Regions from separate parts of the Homo sapiens genome. Here all the other regions are linked to region 2. Evidence: promoter capture Hi-C in 16 types of primary human blood cells and fetal thymus (Javierre and others, 2016). All regions are on one chromosome and are shown on one strand. Each heading gives the region's core, a stretch centred on a gene start or on the middle of the fragment in contact. The rest is flanking DNA. Distances are from core to core; before and after follow the strand shown.

Evidence for each region. The method cuts DNA at HindIII sites, captures the fragments that hold promoters and counts their contacts. A CHiCAGO score of 5 or more calls a contact.
Region 1: a contact is called between a fragment that was not itself captured here and the fragment with the promoter of GLB1 in region 2, in 5 of 17 cell types (endothelial precursors, megakaryocytes, neutrophils and 2 more). The highest score is 8.0, in endothelial precursors.
Region 3: a fragment that was not itself captured here is called in contact with the fragment with the promoter of GLB1 in region 2 in 1 of 17 cell types (neutrophils); the score reaches 5.5 in neutrophils.
Region 4: a fragment that was not itself captured here is called in contact with the fragment with the promoter of GLB1 in region 2 in 1 of 17 cell types (endothelial precursors); the score reaches 5.8 in endothelial precursors.
Region 5: a fragment that was not itself captured here is called in contact with the fragment with the promoter of GLB1 in region 2 in 1 of 17 cell types (erythroblasts); the score reaches 6.4 in erythroblasts.
Region 6: a contact is called between a fragment that was not itself captured here and the fragment with the promoter of GLB1 in region 2, in 1 of 17 cell types (M2 macrophages). The highest score is 5.0, in M2 macrophages.

What each region holds. Positions count from the first base shown.
Region 1 is chr3:33,386,302-33,389,001 of GRCh38, reverse strand. FBXL2 (F-box and leucine rich repeat protein 2) reads right to left here. Exons shown (of 15, transcript NM_012157.5): 15 at 910-2,700. UBP1 (upstream binding protein 1) reads left to right here. Exons shown (of 16, transcript NM_014517.5): 16 at 1-666. Among named protein-coding and RNA genes, the nearest start is that of UBP1, 53 kb to the left of the region's middle. The HindIII fragment of the contact is 2,345 bases long and covers 162-2,506 here.
Region 2 is chr3:33,095,776-33,098,475 of GRCh38, reverse strand. GLB1 (galactosidase beta 1) reads left to right here and starts at 1,330. Exons shown (of 16, transcript NM_000404.4): 1 at 1,330-1,465. The coding sequence starts at 1,391. It overlaps TMPPE (transmembrane protein with metallophosphoesterase domain), which reads left to right and starts at 1,330. Exons shown (of 2, transcript NM_001039770.3): 1 at 1,330-1,757. RefSeq lists a silencer at 1,133-1,742. The HindIII fragment of the contact is 8,101 bases long and covers 1-2,700 here.
Region 3 is chr3:33,461,223-33,463,922 of GRCh38, reverse strand. No RefSeq gene overlaps it. Among named protein-coding and RNA genes, the nearest start is that of UBP1, 22 kb to the right of the region's middle. RefSeq lists an enhancer at 337-890. The HindIII fragment of the contact is 7,405 bases long and covers 1-2,700 here.
Region 4 is chr3:33,357,257-33,359,957 of GRCh38, reverse strand. It overlaps FBXL2 (F-box and leucine rich repeat protein 2), which reads right to left. Exons shown (of 15, transcript NM_012157.5): 3 at 937-991; 4 at 601-675. Among named protein-coding and RNA genes, the nearest start is that of FBXL2, 81 kb to the right of the region's middle. The HindIII fragment of the contact is 151 bases long and covers 1,228-1,378 here.
Region 5 is chr3:32,697,783-32,700,534 of GRCh38, reverse strand. The region is part of intron 1 of CNOT10 (CCR4-NOT transcription complex subunit 10); the gene reads right to left. Among named protein-coding and RNA genes, the nearest start is that of CNOT10, 14 kb to the right of the region's middle. The HindIII fragment of the contact is 2,857 bases long and covers 1-2,742 here.
Region 6 is chr3:32,828,811-32,831,552 of GRCh38, reverse strand. The region is part of intron 1 of TRIM71 (tripartite motif containing 71); the gene reads right to left. Among named protein-coding and RNA genes, the nearest start is that of TRIM71, 12 kb to the right of the region's middle. The HindIII fragment of the contact is 687 bases long and covers 1,133-1,819 here.

The sequences.
Region 1 (2,700 bases), core at 85-2,584, 290 kb before region 2:
CTATTCCATTTTAATTGTAGGATATCTTTGTCCATATACCCAGGTGTCCTGATTTGAATGTACTATTTGATCCTCATTGTGTTCAGGCAAAAAATAGGAAATGAGTAATTTTGAGTTTGAAATCTCTCCCAGAAGACAAACTACTTCAGTGAGTAAAAGCTTTGACATTTTATGTTTTATTCATAAAGGGGGTTAATTATTTGCTACAAAGAAGCACGATCTATTTTCATCATCGATTTGAAAATATCTGTAACTCCTATAGATCCTATAGGCAGAGAGTTTTCCTTTCTGACTTTTTCCCTTTGCTTTCGTGTGACCACATGTTTTCTGTACCAGTCACTGGGGAAAGAAGTGAGTTTATCTCGTTTGTTTTAAAAGTTTTGCTTGTCTATTTAGCATTCCTTTTTGGGTCTCAAGATTTATGGAACAATAAATGTCATTTAATGCTGTGTGCTTATTTTGAATTCCTCATCAGGTTTTAGAAGCGGGGTAAAAATACTTAGATGCTTATCAGACTTGAAATTATACTGAGTGGCATTGAACGTGAGTTTGTCCCAGTGAAACAGGCTAAATAAATTTTGGCACCAGCAAATTTGTTACTTTGTTTTTTTAATAGTAGGATGTACACATTTCAGTATAATAAATGTTTTCTGATTGTTTTGCAAATGTGTGTCTCATTTAAAATCCCAGTTCCTGCTACTGTCACTTCGTGTCATAGAATCAAGGAGTTTCCCTGTGTGTATTCTGAGCCAGTCTAAATGTAGTAAGAGGTTAGGCTCATAGTTTTTTCCTTTTCAGTTTATTTTCTGAAAGCTGATGCAACTGAGGATATGTTGTTATTCCATTAACTAACTAACTAACTAACTAACTAACTAAACTATTCCAGACTTTAAAAGGAAGCAAACCTGATTTTCTTTTTTTTTTTTTTTTTTGAGACGGAGTCTGGCTCTGTCACCCAGGCTGGAGTGCAGTGGCGCAATCTCGGCTCACTGCAAGCTCTGCCTCCCGGGTTCACGCCATTCTTCTGCCTCAGTCTCCTGAGTAGCTGGGACTACAGGCACCCGCCACTATGCCCGGCTAATTTTTTTTGTATTTTTAGTAGAGACGGGGTTTCACTGTGTTAGCCAGGATGGTCTTGATCTCCTGATCTCACGATCCGCCCGCCTCTGCCTCCCAAAGTGCTGGGATTACAGGCGTGAGCCACCGTGCCCAGCCTGCAAACCTGATTTTCTTACAAGAGGTTCTCCTGTTTTGTAAATGAGGCCATGGATCATTGAGCATCAAGTCCAATAGCTGTGACTGATGATAGGTTGTATCCTGGCTCAAAAGAAATCAATCATGTATAGAAGGCTCTGGTGGTTTGTTTTGTTTGTTTGTTTGTTTTGTTTTGAGATGATGATGGAGTCTCACTGTTGTCTCCTGGGCTGGATGGAGTGCAATGGCACAATCTCGGCTCACTGCCACCTCCGCCTCCTGGGTTCCAGCATTTCTCCTGCTTCAGCCTCCCGAGTAGCTGAGATTACAGGTGCCCAGCACCACGCCCGGCTAATTTTTGTATTTTCAGTAGAGATGGGGTTTTACTGTGTTGGCCAGGCTGGTCTCAAACTCCTGACCTCAGGTGATCCACCCGCCTTGGCCTCCCCAAGTGCTGGGATTATAGGCATGAACCACCGTGGCCAGCCTTAAGTTAATTTTTTTTAATAGAAACTAAACTAATTCATAATCACTGAAGCAAGTCTGTTATATGCTCATTTATTGAAGTTGCTTCCTGCATCAGTCCTCCTCCCCCATCATCTCTTCCACAACAAACAGTGGGTATAAATGTATATTTAACTAACTGCTATGGTATCCACACAATTTTTAGACCAAGGAATACTGGAATATATCATAAGGCAATAAAATGACTTTAATGCTTACTCTGATGATAATTGTGCTAAGTCCGTTTATGGGGAGATTATATATATATATAATCTGCTTCTCTTCCTAGAATGCAGCTGACATAATATATCCTTAAAAACACTTCTAAAACTGCCTAATAAAGGTATTGGTAGTCATGGGAACACATCTTGCTTTTGCCGTTTCACTTTTAAGTTTCTCATGAGCTCTGGCCCTTCAGTTTGGGGGAGTGGTTGTTTGGAAGGGCCAGCCACCATGAACACCTAAGTTTACAATGAAGGTGGTGATGACTGATTGACAGGTTCTTAATAAAGATCATAAATATGGACAGCATGGAGCAAGAATGAACCACAGCAGAGAGTAGGGTCATTTTATCAGATTTCAGATAACATCAGGAAGGTCTGCATTTGGAAAATGGTTTTGCTTGGATGTGTCTGCCATAAAATCATAGCAATAAAACCCTCTGACTTAATTTTTTTTAAAGCATTGCAATGGTTTATTCAATTTTATGAGTCTAAAAGGTACCAACACTTACTGATCTGAGTTTTAAGTGTGTAAAACTTTTGAGTAGCTATGGTGTAACCTGATTTTTAAGATTTCAAAATAAGCTTGAAAAAAAATCACATCCATTTTACATGCATCCATTCATTACTTCTAATTGATTATACTACAGATAACTTAAGCCTTAGTTCTTTCTCTTTAAGGTTCCCCCCAGTTTTACGAGAGGCATGGACATAATTAGCTTTTTTCCTTTAGTAAAAATGTGTTATGTGCTGTAGCATACACCAGAGCTTCTACTTTCCA
Region 2 (2,700 bases), core at 81-2,580:
TTGCAGAGCTTGGAAAGGACTTCACAGTGCAAGGACACGGAATTGGTACTACAGGCATGAAAAGAAGCCAGGCACGGTGGCTCATGTCTGTAATTCCAGCATTTTGGGAGTTCCAGGCAGGTAGATTGCTTGATCCCAGAACTTCAAGACCTGCCTGGGAAACGTGGTGAGACCCTGTCTCTACAAAAAATACAAAAATTAGCCGGGTGTGGTGGCGCACGCCTGTAGTCCCAGCCACTTGGTAGGCTGAGACGGGAGAATTGCTTGAGCCCAGGAGGCCAAAGCTGCAGTAAGCCGTGATTGCGCCCCACTCCAGCCTGGGTGACAGAGTGAGACCCTGTCTCAAAAAACACAAAAACAAAACAAAAAAACAACCCCCCAAACCAAAAAACAAAAACCTAAGAAAAGCCAGTAACTGATACTTTCTCAATCTCTCAATGAAATGTCCTTTCTGATACTTTCTCAATCTCTCAAGGACATGTCCGGTAGGAAAGGAGAAAGGAGTGAACAAATAGAATTTTGGCTACTTTGTTATACAATGTAAAAAGGCTTTTTGGAACACCAAGGCATAAACTAAGGTTATTTTAAAAAAGAAAATTTTTTTTTGATACGGAATTTCGCTCTTATTGCCCAGGCTGGAGCGCAATGGCTCGATCTCGGTTTACTGCAACCTCCACCTCCCGGGTTCAAGCGATTCTCCTGTCTCAGCCTCCTCAGTAGCTGGGATTACAGGCGCCTGCCACCACGCCCGGCTAATTTTTGTATTTTTAGTAGAGACGGGGTTTCATCATACTGGTCAGGCTGGTCTGGAACTCCTGACCTCAGGCGATCCGCCCGCCTCGGCCTCCCAAAGTGCTGGGATTACAGGCGTGAGCAGGATTTTCATTCTAACAAGTTCCAGGTGAGTTGATACAGTGGCTCCAGGGACCGACCACATTTTGCTAACCCCCGGCTTAGAGTTATTCAAAGAGCCCGTATATGAGACGCGGATTCCATCTAGGGCGTTTAGGTTTAATGATTAACAATTTCCCTCTTCTGCTCTCTCAAGGCAGCCAGGGAACAGGGAGACCATGATTCATGTCCAATCCCCGAGGCGCGTTATCAAGCTGCTGAAAGCAGGCCCTCCGGACTGCAGTTCCAAAGGGTCCCTTCCCAGGGAAGACGCCTGCAAAACCCAGATAGTACTATCCTGGAGTCACGCGGCGGCGCGCAGCCTCCTAGCCGCCCCCACCCGCCCGGCTCGGCCACAGCGGGGCGGGGCGCGGGGCTGAGCAGGCGCGAGGGCTGGCTGCTGGGCCGACGAGGGGCGGTGCCAGGCCGTGGGTCCTTAGTCAAGTGACGCGAAGCGGCCGGCCTGGGCGCCGACTGCAGAGCCGGGAGGCTGGTGGTCATGCCGGGGTTCCTGGTTCGCATCCTCCCTCTGTTGCTGGTTCTGCTGCTTCTGGGCCCTACGCGCGGCTTGCGCGTAAGTCTGCGGGACCCGGGTACGGGGAGGCATTGCTAGGGGACAGGCTGGCGGGGAACCGGGCTGGGGTCGCAGCCACCCGCGGTCCCGCAGGGCGGGGAGCCTGAGCCCCGAAGTGCCCCCCAGCAGGCTCGCGGCCGGCGGAACGCAGGCAGTGGACCGGCCTTCCCGTCGGGGGCGGGCCGGGCGGGGCGCGCGTCCTTCCAGGCAGCTCGGTCGCTTGTGCGTTCCGCTCCGGCCGCCCTTTGCGCTTGGATCCACTTCCCCATCTGTAACGAGGTGTTGAGACGAGGTGCGTGTAAACATTTCCTAAGTTGGCTTTCCGGGAGGGGATTCCAAGTTGCGCGGGTTAGAGGGTGCCTCCGGCTCTGGTTTGGGGCGCCCTCGCTTTCCCAGTTGGTGCTCTGCGGAGCGCTCCGGAAGGAGAAAAATGGGGTCAGGAGAGGCCCTTGCAGTGGGAACATTGGGTTATTTCCCCTCTGGGTGCTCTCCCTCTTCGTGCATCTTGTTCCTTTCTCACCACTCCCCGTCGCCTGCCCTTTGGCTTGGGTTTTTCTTTGTATTTGTGGGACCGTTTTCCTTCGGCGTTTGGGGGTCCAGGTTGAGGGGGGGAATAGGCAGGCTGCCGGGGGATGCCATCGTTGATCGGGGCAGGGCTGGCGAGGCGAATAGGTGAGGTGCGGGGCGTGCACAGTTGGTGGGAGAGGAAGGACAGCTTCACTCGCTGCGTCCGAGCTGAGGCGACTGGCTGAGGGGCTCCAAAGCGCTGCCTGGGGAGGTTTGCATCACACCTGCGGAAAGGAGAGTGGGTAGTTGCAAGCTGCTCCTCTGCACGTTCCGCGGACCAACTTTGGTTCCTCCAGGGTGTAGGTGGGCTGAGCCTGCAGTATGCTTTAAGTAAGAGCTGGTAGCATTTGACACCGTTGACTTGTAAGTTACACCCTTTAATAACGCTTTCAATAACGTGCCTAGGGCAGAGAAAAGTGGTACATTTATCTACAACCAAGATTGAACATCTTAAGTATTTGGAAAACAGCTGCTGAAAATGTTTTCATTTTGGGAAAAAGTCAGCACAGATTATTTGCTGCTCCCTCTTCACCCCGTCTGTGGTTCCCCTACCCCAGTATGTAGACAGAGTTTTCTTGTCCAGAAGGCCCGTAGGACCTTAGGAGTCAGAGCTAGCCAGCTGTGAGAACCACTGGGGAAGGTGGAACTGGGGCACAGTTCAGGAGAAC
Region 3 (2,700 bases), core at 170-2,669, 370 kb before region 2:
TAAGCCATCATATCCCCAGTCACCGCACATATACATCCAGATGGCCTGAAGCAACTGAAGATCCACAGAAGTGAAAATAGCCTTAACTGATGACATTCTACCATTGTGATTTGTTTCTGCCCCACCCTAACTGATCAATGAACTTTGTAATCTCCCCCACCCTTAAGAAGGTTCTTTATAATCTCCCCCATCCTTAAGAAGTTTCTTTATAATTCTCCCCACCCTTGAGAATGTACTTTGTGAGATCCACCCCCTGCCCCCAAAACATTGCTCTTAACTCCACCGCCTATCCCAAAACCTATAAGAACCAATGATAATCCCACCACCCTTTGCTGACTCCTTTTTCAGACTCAGCTCGCCTGCACCCAGGTGAAATAAACAGCCATGTTGCTCACACAAAGCCTGTTTGGTGGTCTCTTCACACGGACACATGAGACAAATCACTTGAACCCAGGAAGCGGAGGTTTCAATGAGCCAAGATTGCACCATCGCACCATTGCACTCCAGCTTGGGCAACAAGAGTGAAACTCTTCTCGAAAAACAAACAAACAAACAAAAGGTTCTTTTGAAGTCTTATAGTGGCTGCTGGTTAGAGATAATAGATGACAAATTATTTCCTATTTAGATCTTTAAAAGGTGCTAGACTTTTAGTTAATTTCTTTAGGATTGGGAGGGCCTGGAATAAAAGATCTAGCTATGTTAATAGAGATTCTTTACAGATGCAAAATTTCCCCCACAAAGCACAGCTTTGCAGGGCCATTTCACGATATAGCAAAGAAACATGTTTTGGGTAAAATATTTTGATTTTCTTCCTTGTCTCATAATGTTATGCCAGAGTCAGGTTGGAAAGCAAGTAACAATATATACAGTCAAATAAAACCCATCTGATGAGAATTTATTATTTGTAGGGCATGACTCCCCAGACTCATTAGATAGGAATTTGGGCAAGATAAAAAAAATCAGAGTTTAGTCCTCAAAAGGATTTTCTTAAAAAGTGCTTAGCTTAATTAAAAGTGGATATCCAAGCTATAGGTACATTTAAAAGGGCTTTATGTTTTTCTCTTTCTGGATCTTGTTTTTCTAGAAAAAGTTTTTTTTTCTTCTCAGTCGATTGAATTCTTTTTCTCCATTTTGTCTTGGCACTCTTAATGCATGCATGAGAGGCCCTAAGTTATAATTTCAGATGGCCTGGGACTTCTTGGGAAAAACAGAAAAGGCGCCACTGATTCCATTTTGGGTGAAACCTCTGTTTTCCTCATGGAACTCCAGGAATTAGAAGTTGATAGGTCCCTCTCAAAATCTATTTTTTGTCTTCCAGCTATACCTGATTATTAAGCCTTAGAAACTGCATGGTTTCCTAGACTATCTCTTAAAAGGCTCCACCCTGAGGCCAATAATCCAATTAGGAGAATGGCAAATAAAAAATCTTACAATTACTGGATCTTTTACTGTCTGTTTGTGTAGTTATGTATGTGTTATATGTGTGTGAAGTTTACATAAAAGAGCCCTAGGCTGGGCCCAGTGGCTCATGCCTGTAATCCCAGTACTTTGGAAAGCTGAGGTGAGTGGAACACCTGAGATCAGGAGTTTGAGACCAGCCTGGCCAACATGGTGAAACCCCATCTCTACTAAAAATACAAAACGTAGCTGGGTGTGGTGGTGGGCACCTGTAATCCTAGCTACTCAGGAGGCTGAGGCTGGAGAATCACTTGAACCCAGGAGGTGGAGGTTGCAGTTAGCCAAGATCACGCTATTGCACTCCAGCCTGGGCAACAAGAGCAAGACTCTGTCTCAAAAAAGAAGAAGGAAAAAAAAAAGAACTAGTTAATTGGCCTAAAGAAAAATAAGCACTTATGGTCAGGCATGGTGGCTCATGCCTGTAATCCCAGGACTTTGGGAGGCTGAGGTGGGCGGTTCATGAGGCCAGGAGATCAAGACCATCCTGGCTAACATGGTGAAACCCCATCTCTACTAAAAATACAAAAAAATTAGCTGGGTGTGGTGGCAGGTGCCTGTAGTCCCAGCTACTTGGGAGGCTGAGGCAGGAGAATGGCATGAACCCAGGAGGTGGAGCTTGCAGTGAGCCGAGATCACACCACTGCACTCCAGCCAGGGCAACACAGCGAGACTCCATCTCAAAAAAAAAAAAAAAAGAAAAGAAAAAGAAAAAAGAAAAATAAGCTGGGCGCGGTGGCTCACGCCTGTAATCCCAGCACTTTGGGAGGCCGAGGCGGGCGGATCACGAGGTCAGGAGATTAAGACCATCCTGGCTAACACGGTGAAACCCCATCTCTACTAAAAAAATACAAAAAATTAGCCAGGCGGGGTGGCGGGCGCCTGTAGTCCCAGCTACTCAGGAGGCTGAGGCAGGAGAATGGTGTGAACCTGGGAGGCGGAGCTTGCAGTGAGCCGAGATCATGCCACTGCCCTCCAGCCTGGGCAACAGAGCAAGACTCTGTCTCAAAAAAAAAAAGAAAAGAAAAGAAAAGAAAAATAAGCACTTAAATAAAATTTTTTTTGAAGGAGAAGTAAAAGCTGTGAAGGTTTTTACTTCACATGACTTTAATCTTTGAGAAATAAAAACAGTCTTAAAGATTACTGGTAAAATGCAACTGTCATCAAAATGTAAATAGGTGATCTAAATTCTGCAGATCAGATACTAGGTTTGCTATATGTTTTAAGGTTATAAACTGCTTCTTT
Region 4 (2,701 bases), core at 54-2,553, 260 kb before region 2:
TAAACTTTCCTCATTTCATCAGGTTTACCACACTTAAATGGAGATATTTACATATTTACAGATAAATATATCAGAATCTTATATATTCTGTATATAATAATTGTATAAGACTTAATTATTACTTTATTTTATAGATAATAAAACAGAATACTGAGAGATTATATGACTTAAGTGGCCAAGCTAGGGTGACACTTTAGATCTCCAGCCTCACTCTTGGGCTTCTGCTTCTGCCATTTCTCCACTTTTGATGCTGAATTAGAATTCTCGGTGGATTTTCTAGATCAATAAGTATTTGTCAAGTCTCCTAAGGTTAAAGCACTGAACCAGGTGATAATGATGCAGGTGTGTGGCTTTAAAAAGCTGAGTAGTAAAATTCAGACTATAAACATAAACAAGGGAAAAAAATCTGTTACTGATACAATTTAAAATGCAAGCAGGGTTTTGTTTTGATGTATGCAAATCCCTTCCAGTTTTTCTTCTTTCTGTTCTACCTCAGCACTTTAATATTAGATCTAAATGCAGTAAAATAAAAAGTCAGGAAAGGGGGAACAGCTACTCATATTTTTAAAAAGTTTTTTGTCTAAACCAAAGCTAACTTACCTCTACATCTGTTTGAAAGTTAAAAAGATCTATTCTTTGCCAGTTGCTTCCATCCAGGGCTAAGATGTTCCAAGCCTGGAAGGTGGGAGGTAAAGGAAGAGGGATTGGGATGAAAGAAACACATTTATTGAGACTATTAAAGAAAGTCTTGATTAACCTTTATTTCCAAACTCCTATTTTTGATGTATATTAAGTTAATCATCAAATGCAAAATTATACCATTATGTTATATTAAGTATAAAAGATAATAAAATTTTAATTTTCAGTAATTTGAACTAAAACTCATTCTAATAAAACTTGATATTTATTGATTAAAAAATCTGGTGAATACTCTACCTTGGAAATCTGTGCACATCGGCACAAAGTTACTATATCCAAGAAGGAAAATATTCTACAGAGAGAGGAAAAAAACACAAAAACGAGATGGTGTTAACATTTCAGGATAATTATAACTTGAAAGATAAACTCTAATCCGCCACCTGGATACATAAGTTTTTTCAAGATTCCTCAATCTGAAATATACAAGTGCACTATAACTTTACATCACTACAGTGAAATATTAAGTGTTTGCATGTTCAGAAGCTATTTTGGACACACAATACAAATTACCTTAGAACTCATTAAGCTTATATTTCCCTTGTTCTAAGTAATGGACACAGGAAAGACCATAACTGGTTCTATTTGAAGACCAACTCTCTAGCATAAGCCCTCTTTTGGTGGTAGATGCACTGAACAGGCTCAGATGCCTGAGCCTCAAATAACACTGTCAAAAAAAGCTTGATGACAAAGCCCATTTGGTTTGAAGTATTTGTTTGCCTGGCAGAAAGATGGAGCTCATTAGTTGGCAAAGTCTATAAGTGATCAGTTTTTCCTAAGCAAAAGCCAAGGAGCCAGAGAACATAGGAAAGATGGGGCGGGAAGAGGTGGGGGGAAGAAAAGCAGACAGAAGCAAACAAAATCTTGGTTGGCATCAGTAATGCCTTAGAGGAAGCAGTAGCTGCCAGCATGGCAGGGGACTGAGTGAAGCCTCGACATTCTGGCAGTCAAGGAGAGGAGCTGCTGCTCATAGTATGTGAGCAAACAGCCGTGTGCGCCTCAGCACTGCAGAGTGACAGCTAAAAACAAAGGGCAGCTTTTCTGTGAGAAGAAGGGTGGACAGGGTTGAAGTCAGGAACAAGAGTAGTGCCTCAGTTTTCAGAGTCCTGGAAAGTAAATATGAGAGTCTGTGCCTCTGAGTGTGGAAGGGGGAGAGTGGTTAAGATGGCGAACAGCCACCTATAATGTTCCTCAAAATTCTTCAAAGGCAACAATCGGTGGTGAGATAAAAATCCACGGACTCAGGGAAGAAGAGTAGAATCATAAAACATGAAAGTGTTGTACCCTACAATAATGCACCCACATGCAGTACCATGGGATACTGACTGCATAGATGCCATCCTACAATATAGGCTACAATCATTTTCTAGTGAAAAGCAAAGGATAGAAGCATAATAAGGGCTACACTGACTTTAAAAGATTCAGTGGATCTTGGCTGGGCGCGGTGGCTCACGCCTGTAATCCCAGCACTTTGGGAGGCCGAGGTGGGCGGATCACGAGGTCAGGAGATCGAGACCATCCTGGCTAACACGGTGAAACCCCATCTCTACTAAAAATACAAAAAATTAGCCGGGCGAGGTGGCGGGCACCTGTAGTCCCAGCTACTCAAAAGGCTGAGGCAGGAGAATGGCGTGAACCCGGGAGGCGGAGCCTGCAGTGAGCCGAGATAGCGCCACTGCACTCCAACCTGGGCGACAGCGAGACTCCGTCTCAAAAAAAAAAAAAAAAAAGACTCAGTGGATCTTTGTACATAGAAAAATGCTGGTGGCTAAAATATGTGTACTTAAACATACATATTCAATATATTTTAGGATATCTACACATCTACCTTGCCCAACACAAAGGCTCTCCTGCCCCTAATAGCTGTGTTCTGTGACATATGACCATCCCACAGCTAGCCACATCTGATTATCAGCTCCCTACAGAAACAAACACCAAACAGAGAAACTAGCCTGGTACAGTAGAATCATATTTCATGCAGGGATTGGGTTCTAAAAGCATAAGC
Region 5 (2,752 bases), core at 65-2,564, 400 kb after region 2:
TAGCACAATAGTGCAGATTCTATCATTTTCAACATACAGACGGGAGGCAGGTTGCACAGTGACGTACAGACAATTTTTAGAATTGAAATAAGACTAAAACTTTAATGTCACTTCTGAAATTAAACAGATGCTACAAAGTGGAACTGGGGCAAGTTTCAGCTTCCCTATTTACTAAAATGAGAGTCTGTATTAAATAGTTTTTAGCATCCCTTCCAACTCAGATTCAGTAACTCCAAACATGCTTCTATAAAGAAACTGAGGCCGGGCGCAGTGGCTCACGCCTGTAATCCCAGCACTTTGGGAGGCCGAGGCAGGCGGATCACCTGAGGTCAGGAGTTCAAGACCAGCCTGGACAACATGGTAAAACCCCATCTCTACTAAAAACACAAAAATTAGCCGGGCATGGTGGTGCATGCCTGCAGTCTCAGCTACTTGGGAGGCTGGAGCAGAAGAATCACTTGAACCTGGGAGGCAGAGGTTGCAGTGAGCCGAGATCATGCCACTGCACTCCAGCCTGGGTGACAGAGCAAGACTTCATCTCAAAAAAAAAAAAAAAAAAGAAACTGATATGTTTGTTCCTAAAGCAGCACTCATATCCAATTAAGGTTTCTATGGAAGACAAATACCCACATGAGAAATAGTAGACCACCTTGTCCCCAAGTTTACCCCTCAAGAGTGCCTACAACCAACTTTCCAGAAAGTTGTCAAGAATCACACTGGTTATGGGGTTCTTTTGCTTACTGGCTCCTTTCCATTCTTCCCTCTCCTTCTATAGATCTGCCAACATGGACTCAAGTTGGGGCTAGAGCTAGTGGAATGCTCCCCCAGTATGGTGCCCTAGAGTTGCATCTGTCATAGTAGCCTCCACTTTCGCACCTCATCCATCACAAGCCCCCTTCCAGGATACTGGGAAGTGTGACTCCCTCTATAATGGCTTCCAGGAGTTGCCTAGATAAACAAACTCCCTTATCTTCAAGAACCCTGCCACAGTCCTTCACAGTGTTCCTCAAACACCAGAAACTTGCTGAAAGAAGAGTAAATATGAATGGCTTAATAACGTGAAATGAAATTCAGCCTCATTATTTATTAAATAATTGTAAATTAAAACGATAATACTAAATGTCTAGAAATAAATATTCTTCAAGAGATTTGATAACTAAATCATGGTATAGGAATACAATGGCACATTAACAGTTATTAAGTCTATATAACTTGATGTGGAAAAATATTTACAACATGTTGTTAAATAAAAGAAACAGATTGCAAACTGCTTTGTACAACTGAATCCCATGTTTTATAAAAATATATACACAAATATGTACCTCTGAATAAGTATAAAGTCTACAAGGATACACAGCAAACTATTCACCAAACTGTATGTGCACTTATGATCTGGGCACTTTTTGATAACTGCCTAGACAACAGGAGCATCTCAAAGAACCAGTTGTTGGCCAGGTGTGGTGGCTCACACCTGTAGTTCCAGCATTTTGGGAGGCCAACGCGGGTGGATCACTTGAGCCCAGGAGTTCAAGACCAGTCTGGGCAGCATGGTGAAACCCCGTCTCTACAAAAAATACAAAAATTAGCTGGGCATGGTGGCATGCATCTGTAGTCCCAGCTACAAGCGAGGCGAAGGTGGGAGGATTGCTTGAACACAGGAGGTGGAGTGTGCAGTGAGCTGAGATTGTGCCAAAGCACTCCAGCCTGGGCAGCAGAGTAAGACCCCATCTTAATAAACTAAAAATAAAAGAACCAGTTGTCAACAGAACTAACTTTGGGAAGTCCTAGCCTGGCACATGTCAGCAGTCAGTGAAGATTCCCAACTTCCCTTTTCCAAGAAGGCAATATGACATAATTAAAAGAGCACAAGTCTTAGAATCAGTCACATCTTCAGTCCAGTCGTCCTTTGGCCTGTTTTTAATTAGAGATGCTAAATAAATATAGCTCCCTTCCCCACTTTCCTTTCACCAGAACTAAAAATTCTTGTACTTATATTTTTAAAAATATATTTATGTCTGTAATTTAAACATAAAAATTAACAGTAAAATTCAATTTCATGTGACTTGACTATGAAACAGCTCTTTAGATCACTACGAAACCCCCAGAAGACTGAACACCCTTTTGAGAGTCACCACTTATAACAACGTAATACTGTATAACTTGTACTTAAAAAAACTCATCTAAGAACTTATCTGCTGTATAAAAAAGGCATTCCAGTATTTGGGCTTATTAAAAAGTGTTACTTGTGATAATTAAAGTTAGCAGGTCAAGTAGTTATTTTATTTCCACTTTAGCATACGACAGGGAGGAGGAAAAGCTAAGAGTTAAGTGAATAAAGTTTGCCAGTTTCAAAGGACAATGTTAAACAGTTTTTTCTTTGGAAAGCCAATAACAATGAGTTTCACTGCAAGAACATACTGTTTATCCAATACATGTGTTTTGCAGAACTGTCAGGTGCACAAAAGAGGTAAGGACCAATTATTTTAAAACGTGTAAAAATGTGACACAGGACTTTAGGACCTCAGAAGGCAAGTTATAAGTTTAGATTGAAACAGGATCCTCAATCCACATATTGTCACCATAAAACTTTAACAAAGAATATAAATATCTTTCATGTTTCTTTTATTATTAAAGATTTTATAAAACCTAACATTTTAAAAAATGTGTCTTCTCTCATAAAGAAGCATAATTTAAACCAAATGCCAAAAATTCTTAGTTTGCTATTGAGTTTTCTCTAAAGCTTCTTCTAAAA
Region 6 (2,742 bases), core at 227-2,726, 270 kb after region 2:
AAAAAAAAAAAAAAAAGGAAGATAAGCAACATTATTTAATTTCATGAAAAGAAACTAGCTGTTTGGCTGCAACTTGCAGGAAAAGTTGAAGCCAAATTTTTTCATGATTATTTACAGTTATGGGCACATACATTACAATATAAATTTTTCTAGCTCTTTCAAAGAACCTTCATGTGAAAGAGCTCCCCACAAATAGGTCTGGAAGATGTAGCCACCTCTATCACTCCCATCTTAACGGTCAGAAATCAAGTCAGTTAAGTGACTTGTCCAAGGTCACATAGGGCAACACTAGGACTTAAATCCAGTTGTTACTCTGTAGCTCATGGTCTTACCTATACCAAGAAGCTGAGAGCATTTTTCAAGCCACTCTTCCCCTTTCATCTCCAAAATCCCCCACGGTCCCCCACCCCCATCTATATAACGTGGGGAAAAATCCATCAAAACTCAACACTTGCAGGCAGGCACAGTGGCTCACGCCTGTAATCCCAACACTTTGGGAGGCCGAGGTAGGCGGATTACCTGAGACCAGCCTGGCCAACATGGTGAAACCTAGTCTCTGCTAAAAAATATCACAATTAGCTAGGCGTGGTGGCGGGCGCCTGTAATCCCAGCTACTGGGGAGGCTGAGGCACGAGAATCGCTTGAACCCAGGAGGTAGAGGTTGCAGTGAGCCTAGATTGCACCACTGCACTCCAGTTCCAGCAAAAAAACAAACAAACATCAAAACAAATAAAAAAAACCCTCAACATTTGGGGCAGGGGGAGGCATTCTATGGCTTGAAAACTAAGAAGTGTCCTTTGTTTCTGCAAAGGAATGAAGGCAGACTTTGGGCATCTTCTGAGGGTCAAACCCAACTTGCATAACTCATTGGAAGTTGACAATCAGGCAAAAGCTGGAATTGGTCCTTAAATCCACTGATATCGACAGAGGCCAGACTTAGTGTAAAAATCCCCAATCCATCAATGCCAAATTGCTCTGAGGTGTTGGGGCCAGGGTGAGAGGGTATGGGGACAGGAGCAGGAGATGAGCTCCATTCCCGGCAATCTGGAATAGAATATGCCCAGAGGATGCACCTCACCCTGATACTGTGAGATGGAGTTATCATTTCAAGAGATTAACAAAACTCAAAGCTTTCTCCCTTGCTAAATTATCGTTCTGGTAATACTTACTATTAAATGAATTTTGGAATGACAGGCGGTTTTTTGCAAGATGGTTATACTCAGTTTTTGGCTAAGAGACCAGAGCCCATTTATGCTTTTTAACGTTCTCCTTAATGACTTAGAAAAGGTCAAAGCAGGAAGATAAAATACAAAAAACAAAAACATTTAGAGGCTGGACACGGTGGCTCACACCTGTAATCCCAGCATTTTGGGAGGCCAAGACAGGCGGATCACCTGAGGTCAGGAGTTCAAGACCAGCCTGGCTAACATGGTGAAACCCCATCTCTACTAAAAATACAAAATTACCCGGGCACGGTGGCATGTACCTATAGTCCCATATACCCGGGGAGGCAGGAGAATGCTGGAACCCAGGAGGCAGAGGTTGCAGTGAGCCAAGATAATGCCAACTGTACTCCAGCCTGGGCGACAGAGCAAGACTCCATCTCGAAAAAAAAAAAAAAAAAAAAAAATTCAGGCAGTAAATTTAGTATTAAGCAGATTTTTAAGGGTTAATTTCAAAAAGCTACACTTGTCAATAACACATGTTACTGTCACATAAATAGCAATGTGGAAAGAGTGCTAGACTAGGAGTCAGGACAGTTTCTGATGAAGTCATTTCATAACCAGGCCTCAGCATTCCCATTTGTAATGGAGAAGCTTCTTCTATGAAGACTTAAGGCCTTTCTTGTGATTTGATTCCTCTTCAGATGCCTCCTCCAATGCACACACACGCACACACAAACACACACACACACACACACACACAATACCATGACATTAATGCTTACTAAATATTCTAGTTGCTGAGATTAGACTGTTCCATTGAGCAAGTTGATCTGCTTCCTTGATATGCCACAGTTTCCCTTCCTCTCCCCAGCCCCCACACAATATCTTGGCTTTAAAGATTAGTGGTGACAGCAGGGCATCGTGGCTCACGCCTGTAATCCCAGCACTTTGGGAGACAGGCAGATCACCTGAGGTTGGAGTTTGAGACCAGCCTGACCAACACAGAGAAACCCCCTCTCTACTGAAAATACAAAATTAGTTGGGTGTGGTGGCTCATGCCTGTAATCCCAGCTACTCGGGAGGCTGAGGCAGGAGAATCACTTGAACCTGAGAGGTGGAGGTTGCAGTGAGCCAAGATCGTGCCATTCCACTCCAGCCTGGGCAACAAGAGCAAAACTCCATCTCAAAAAAAAAAAAAAAAGAAAAGAAAAAAGAAAAAAAGAAAATTATCCAGGCATGGCGGTGCACTCCTGTACTCCCAGCTACTCAGGAGGCTGAGGCAGAAGAATTGCTTGAACCTGGGAAGCGGAGGTTGCAGTGAGCCGAGATCACATCACTGCACTCCAGCCTGGGCGACAGAGGGAAAGTCCGTGTCAAAAAAAAAAAAAATTAGTGCTTTCTAGTGGGGGACAGTGGCTCATGCCTGTAACCCCAGTACTCTAGGAGACTGACATAGGAGGATTGCTATCACTTGAGGCCAAGAGTTCAAGATCAGTGAACTGGGCAACAAAGTGAGAACCCTGTCTCTACAAAAAAATTATAAGAAAAATTAGTGGTTTTCAAACATGTCATATAA